Regions from separate parts of the Homo sapiens genome. Here region 1 is linked to region 2. Evidence: promoter capture Hi-C in 16 types of primary human blood cells and fetal thymus (Javierre and others, 2016). All regions are on one chromosome and are shown on one strand. Each heading gives the region's core, a stretch centred on a gene start or on the middle of the fragment in contact. The rest is flanking DNA. Distances are from core to core; before and after follow the strand shown.

Region 1 (3,648 bases), core at 706-3,205, 110 kb before region 2:
AGCTGGCTACGGACTCCTGGACCTGGGGAAGGGCCCACCTGTCAATGCTGTGGCTCCGCTGCAGCCGTTTCATGGTTGGTGGGGGGTCTGACCATTCTACACAGCACCCACCACTAGATGTCCCAAGCCCCATCTCAGCCACTGCCTGCGGATGTCACAGGGCACCAGAGAAGCAAACAGGTATACACAGTGTTGTATACCTCTGAGGGTGCACACTACAATCTGCTGACGACAAAAGCTTTGGCCCATATGGTGCCATTTCTGGTCTAAATGGAAAACCTAGGCCTGGGCAGTGGGGCAGGGGACCAAGGAAGGGACTCTAAAGACTAAATCCACTCAGAAAGAAAGCTTCCAGAGAAGTGTGCTGCTTTGCCTCCATAAAAACAGCCCGTGTCTCTGTTTCCAAACTTGTCAAAATCACAGAGAAATTGGGCAGGGCCTTATAGGACCAGGCACAAATTGAGTGGAACCAAAAGACACTCAATCCTGCCTCCCAGCCGCAGCTCACTAAGCCCAGCTTGGGAGCAGCAACCCCGAGGCCATGCTGGCAGGTGCCCAGGTGCGACTCTTTTGCTGCTTAGGCTTTCTGACACCATATTTGACCACAATTTTGGAAACTGGTTTTCAACTGTGCATTTTTTTGGTAAAGTTTTTTGTTGTTTTTTGTTTTTGTTTTTAGAAATAGGGTCTTACTCTGTCACCCAGGCTACAGTGCAGTGGCACAATCATAATTCACTATAACCTTGAATTCCTGGACTCAAGCAATCCTATTGCCTCGGTCTCCTGAGTAGCTAGGAACACAGGCATGGCCTCCACCTCTGGCTAATTTTTAAAGTTTTTGTAGAGACAGGATCTCACTATGTTGCCCAGGCTGGTCTCGAACTACTGGCCTTAAGCAATCCTCCCACCTCAGCCTCCTAAAGCACTGGGATTATAGGCATGAGCCACCACGCCCAGCCCAACTGTTCACTTTATGAAGACACTCTAAGTGGTCCAAAATGCAAACCACACACACACGCGCACACACACACACACACACACAAAATATATATATATAAATATATATATATTTATATATATATACATGCGTGTTTTTCAAAACAAAGAAAAAGAAATTTATTTGCACTGTAGCTTAGAGGCTACATTAAAACGCACCTGTAGCCTCCTAAAGCACTGGGATTATAGGCATGAGCCACCACGCCCAGCCCAACTGTTCACTTTATGAAGACACTCTAAGTGGTCCAAAATGCAAACCACACACACACGCGCACACACACACACACACACACAAAATATATATATATAAATATATATATATTTATATATACATACATGCGTGTTTTTCAAAACAAAGAAAAAGAAATTTATTTGCACTGTAGCTTAGAGGCTACATTAAAACGCACCTGTAACACACAACCAACACATGTAGAGGGCCAGAAAAAGGCTTGACATAAGAGAAAGCCTGACCTTTTATTTTTTTTCCCTTTGGATTCCCAGTGCACGTTAGTGAATAGAAAAAATGGAACTATCTAGGAGGTCTATTAGAACAAAGTAACAAAGAAACTCCCTCTCCAGGGGCATTCTTCACTATAAACCAGGTGAGTAGAAAAAAATGAAACTATCTGGGAGGTCTACTAGAACAAAGTAACAAAGAAACTCCCTCTCCAGGAGTGTTCCTGACTATAAACCAGGCTCTCCCCTGCGAGAGGGGGTGAATCCTTAACAAGAACTGGGCTTTCAGGGCCCTGATTGTCCAACTCCACCCCTAGTATCCCACCGCCTAACCACAGCCGGGTCCCAATTCTCTAACCGACATGTGGGTCCCAGGCCAGATGGCAGGTACCTGCTGGGAGGGGGTGGAGAGGGCAGCGATGAGCTTGGCAACAATGGGCTTCACTTTGGGGTCACTCTTGTCCAGGTGCTTGGCCAGAGAGCCCATCAGGACCACCACACTCTGTCGCACAGCATCATAGCTGGCATCATTGGGCGCGTTCTTCAGGAACTCCTCGAATACTGGCAACAGCGAGTTGACGTTCTCCTGGAAAGCCAAACCCCTCAGAGCCTCAGGTCAACCCTACAGGCTGCATCTGGGGACAACAGTCCCTGCCCTGAGGACCAAGACCAAGTCTAGCTCTGGGACAGGCATCCTGACATGCCAGCCAGTGGCTCTTCCAGTTTTCTGGCAGGACTGCCACAGACTTAAAAGAATTTAACACACTATCATGGTCTTTTTGGCTCAAAGTGCTCTGCCAGGACTCTTGGCACTCAGCATTTCTGGCCCCTGCTCAGCCCTAGCGCCTGCCTCCCGTGTCTCCTTAGCGGGCTGGGACCCCCTTACCTTCCCGTGGGTGTTCCCTGGCTGGGACCCCCTTACCTTCCCATGAGTGTTGAGCGTTGCGAGGGCTGCATCCAACATGCACTTCCGGACATCTGGGTGTCGGTCATTGAGGGCATCAGGGACAAAAAACTGAAAGAGTGGCTTCACCTGAGAGCTGTCCAAATACTGGGAGAGCTTGTTGAGGGCCAACGCCAAGCCACACCTGGGAAAGAAGTGGGAGCACATCAGGAGGGGCAGTCAGGGGGCCTCCTCTGCCAGTGGAACCTCTGCTGGTGCACGGCAAGGAGAGGGAGCTTGCCTGAGGCAAACACTGTTTTGGGGGCAGAGAACAGCCTGAAGCCCACCACCCAGTGCTCACCCAATGTTCTGGAACAACCCACTTGTCATATGGAGACTTGCCATCTGCCCTGATTTTACCTCCTACTGGGTGACCAGCCCTGTGTTGGTTTCCCCAGAGAGGAATGTGAGTGCAATGCTCACCCCTCTACCTGCAAAGCAGGTTGTAAGAGAACACAGAGGTAAAAGAACCAGATGTAGAGGCCTGTGGAAGTGAACACATTCTCCAAGGGCAAAGTGTTGTTACTCTTTCCAGTCATGGAGCAAAGAATCTGTGTCCTATCCCTGGCTGATGGTCTGGAATGAAAAATAAGCCAGGATGGGCCCATACACCACCCTACACTGACACACAAGGCCTCACGGGAGTGGACACGGCCAGGATGAGCCATTCAGAGAACTAACACCCTTGCGTGTTTTGAGCCTGCTCTGTGGGAGGCAAGTGTCTTTCAATGTCCCAGTTGCTCCCAGACATCTGTCTAATCCTCCAACTGCTACTCATGGGCTCTGTGGAGAAAGGCTGGTAGCTTCTGTTATTGTGCCCTGCATATAGATGAGGAAACAGAGGCCTGGGGAAAAGGAGAAACACGCTCACGGTCACGCAGCTAGTGCAGGAGAGGACACTCTAAGGAACTTACTTAGAGTTCATTTTAATTGATTTAACTTTAGCCACATGCGGTTAGTGGCTACATCTTGGACAGTACAGCCTAGAGAGAGGTGAGGAGGCAGGTCAGAGGCTCTTCTGAAAGATGGTGCCTCACACGGTCCAATCCCACCCCTTCCAGGGGCTGATGGAACTCAGGCCTCCCCGACTCTGAGGGAGGTCCTGCTCTTTCATTAACCCATGCTGCCTCCTCACAGCACCCACCCAGCCAACCTGCCACATCTCACAAAGCTTGGAGTAGAACGAGGCTGAACAATTGTTATACCTGGCTTCCCACTGATCTGGAGGAGATTCTGAAATAACTCGTCCCAAA
Region 2 (3,476 bases), core at 203-2,702:
GGTCCATCAGTCCTGTCTGCTGAATCTACTCCTCAGAGCCTGGGACAGAGGAAGCATCAGTGGTCACACAAGCCACCCACAGTCCAGAGAGGAAAGACAAGGCTCCTGCAGAGAAGAAACGTTGCCCCCCTCCTCACCTCCCAAGCTCAGGGCCCTCCAGCTACAGGCGTGAAGGGGAGGGAGAGACAGCGAATCCTCCCACTCCTGCGTTCACGCCACCCAAGGCATTCCTAGAACCCTGGCACCAACCCCCTTGGGTTTAGAGTCGGCTTCCAGGAGATACTTTCTTTCCCCTAACACCAGATCAAGACTGGACTGAAAAGAGTAGCCTTGGGGCTCCAATAACAGGAAAACAGTAAAACTCTGTTCTGGGCATCCTGTCCTCTTTCACCTGCGTGGCTTCCAGCAGGGCCTGACGCAGAGAGGGTGGAGGGGACTCTGCTAGCCAGGACACGTTCAGGGATGGTCATACCTTGGGGCCCACCTTCCACCTCATTCCCCTGGCATTTCACCAGAATCTAGGGGTGGGGAGAGAATCAGGACTCCCAAATTACCGTTCTAGACTTAGATACCATGGTAGACGGACTGGTCTGTGAATTGAGGGGCTGGTCCACAGAGCGGGGAGGTCAGTGAGAGAAAATGAGTGATGGGTCCTTGAAACGGGGTGACCAGATTTGAAGTGGGGGGTCAGAAGAGCAGGCAGACTGGGAAACTTGTCTTTGAAATGGGGGTGTGGTCATCACACGCTCATCTCTAGCTTTTGCATCTGACTTGTGAAATGAAAGGGGTGGGCTCCGAGGGGTTATCCCTGAAGGGGGGTGCTAGTCTGTGAAGTGGGGGGCGGCCCTGGAGGGACGGGGAGCAGGTCGAGGAAATGAGGGAGCAGCCCATGAGATCGGGCAGCTGCTCCCCGAGTTGGGCGGTCGATCTGTGAGGTGGGGGTGGGGAGAGGTCTGCGAGGTGAGGGTCCCGTAGCTGACGAGGTGGTCTGCCGCAGGAAGTCTCGTCCCTGCAGCGGACGGGGTGGGTCCCTGAGGGGCGGGCTGGTCCCTGGGGCCCTTCTGGGAGATGGTGATGGGTCCCCGAGGTCGGGGGTCCAGAGGTGAAGCCGTCCCAGACGGGGGGTCGCTGCTGTGCGGTCGGTGCCGGGGCCGGCCTGGCCCGAGACTAAGGCCCGGTTAGGGATCCCAGCCCCGCGGAGCCCCGGCCGGCAGGGACAGGAGCTGAGGCCGGGGCCGCCGAGGGTGGGATCCCGCGGCCCCTGCCGCTCGCTGGCGCCCTCCTGGCCCCAAGCTGCGCGCCTCTCGCCTCCTCCTCCCTCGGCCTCCCGCTCACTCACCGAGGTCGTCCATGGCCGGACCACGGGCGCCGGCTCAGGGTCGCGCTAGCTGCCCGTCCCGGGGCCGCTCGTCTATGCCCCGCAACTTTTCCGCCGCGAGCCTCGGCCCGGAACGGAACGCGCCGCCGCCGCGCGCGCCCGCGCCCGCGCCCGCCGCGCGCCCCGCCCCCGGCCGCCCCCTGTGCACGCGCGCCCCGCCCCCGGACACCCCCGCGAGCTTGCTGGCCCCGCCCCCTGCGCACGCTGGTCCCGCCCCCGCCAAGAGCCCGGGCAGTGGGCGTCGCTGGGCGGGGCGGTGGCGCCCCCTCGCGGCTAAGCGGGCAGGTGGGCGGCTCCCAGGCCTCCAGCCACTCCCATCCATCTTTCTGTCCCTCTCAAAGTCACTTGCCTGACCCTGCGGATGACAAATCCGTCCACAGTCAGCCATGTGTCTGTGCATTCGTCAGCCACTGGGTCATCACATGCCTGTCCACTGGACAGTCAGTTTTGCCCACCTGTCCGTCTGTCACCTGTAGGTCACCACCCAGGAGGACCATAAATCAGTACCAGGCAAGGCCCGGAGCCCGTGGCTGACCTTTCCTGGGGTCGTCCTCTGGATCAATGGCAGTGCAGCTCGCAGTTCACCCTTTCTGGCCCAAACCCAATACCTGTGTGGTTCCATCTCTCTTAATATTACTTCCACACAGCCACCCTCCCTAGACACTTTTCCAAAACTGCATGGGGCAGAGGGGTCCCCAGATTAGACATTAAAGGGAAAACTACAGGAAAGTCACACCCAGTGCTCCCACACACTCGGAAATTGGGTAATAATAACAACTACCATTTATTGAGTGTCTGAATAGACAGACACTATATAGCTATTCTCTAAATTAATCCTCCTAGAGGTACTTCCCTACCCGTTGGGATGGGTGATGGCAGTTTGTGGATTTTATATAAAACTGCTCTGCAAGTACAGCTTCGAGTTCCCCTTGTCCCTCAAGAATCCAGGCCTTCTGGGTCAGATCAGGTCCTCCAGAAAGCAGATGAGATGCTGAGATAAAGCTAGGGGTAATGCCCGTGACAGAGAAGGGGAAATAAGCAGGGTTGGGCAAGGAGACTCAGATCTGACAAACAGGTCAACCCATCAGGGAATTCCAGGACAAAAAAAATGAGAAGTCTCCTTGGGCAGAAGTATCCGGGTTCCAATGCTCCCACCATGTTCAGTCATTTTATAAAGGCAGATCCAAGCAGCTTCTGTGGCTGCCACATTCTCCTATAATAAATTCAAGACCAAAGACTGTTCCTCAAACACTCTATTGCGTGGTTTTCCAGCATCTTGCACATACCTCTATTTTGTTTTAGTTTTTGTGTTTTTGTTTTTGTTTGAGATGGAGTCCCAATCTGTCGCCCAGGTTGGAGTGCAGTGGTGCAATCTCAGCTCACTGCAACCTCCGCCTCCCAGGTTCAAGTGATTCTCCTGCCTCCTGCTGGGATTACAGGCGCATACCACCATGCCTGGCTAATTTTTGTATTTTTAGTAGAGATGGGGTTTCACCATGTTGGCCAGGCTGGTCTTGAACTCCTGATCTCAGGTGATCTCCTGCCTCCTGGTGGGATTACAGGCGTGTACTACCATGCCTGGCTAATTTTTGTATTTTTAGTAGAGACAGGGTTTCACCATGTTGGCCAGGCTGGTCTTGAACTCCTGACTTCAGGTGATCCGCCCCCCTCAGCCTCCCAAAGTGCTGGGATTACAGGTGTGAGCCACCACGCCCAGCCTGTTTTTGTGTTTTTAAGACACAGTCTTGCTTTGTTGCGTAGGCTGGGATGATGAATAAGACTAACATGATGTCTACCTTCTTGAATCTAAAGGTGCACGCAAAAGAGCAAAGTGGTTAGCATGAAGGATGAGTAGCCTCGCCCCACTCCCAGCTGTGTGGAACAGCATGTGCAAAGGTCTGTAGACAAGACATTTAATACTGACCACAAGCCTAGGAGATGAGCATTGTTAGCCCCTTTTACAGCTGGAAGAGTTGAGAGTCAGAGGTTGAATTACTCCAGGTCATACAGCTAATAAGTAAGGAAACTGAGATTTGAACCTGGGGAGGCTTATGCCAAGGCCTGGTTATGAAACGGCTAAGTGAAACTGCTAACAACT

What was found. Contacts are between HindIII fragments. The CHiCAGO score rates a contact against its expected background, and 5 or more counts as called.
Region 1: a contact is called between a fragment that was not itself captured here and the fragment with the promoter of PXN in region 2, in 1 of 17 cell types (endothelial precursors). The highest score is 5.2, in endothelial precursors.

The regions. Positions count from the first base shown.
Region 1 is chr12:120,151,370-120,155,017 of GRCh38, forward strand. GCN1 (GCN1 activator of EIF2AK4) reads right to left here. Exons shown (of 58, transcript NM_006836.2): 31 at 3,601-3,648; 32 at 2,375-2,540; 33 at 1,844-2,038; 34 at 1-22. Among named protein-coding and RNA genes, the nearest start is that of MIR4498, 2.3 kb to the right of the region's middle. The HindIII fragment of the contact is 3,218 bases long and covers 347-3,564 here.
Region 2 is chr12:120,264,278-120,267,753 of GRCh38, forward strand. It overlaps PXN (paxillin), which reads right to left and starts at 1,453. Exons shown (of 15, transcript NM_001385981.1): 1 at 1,340-1,453. The coding sequence starts at 1,352. RefSeq lists silencers at 1,171-1,320, 1,481-1,760. The HindIII fragment of the contact is 6,296 bases long and covers 1-3,476 here.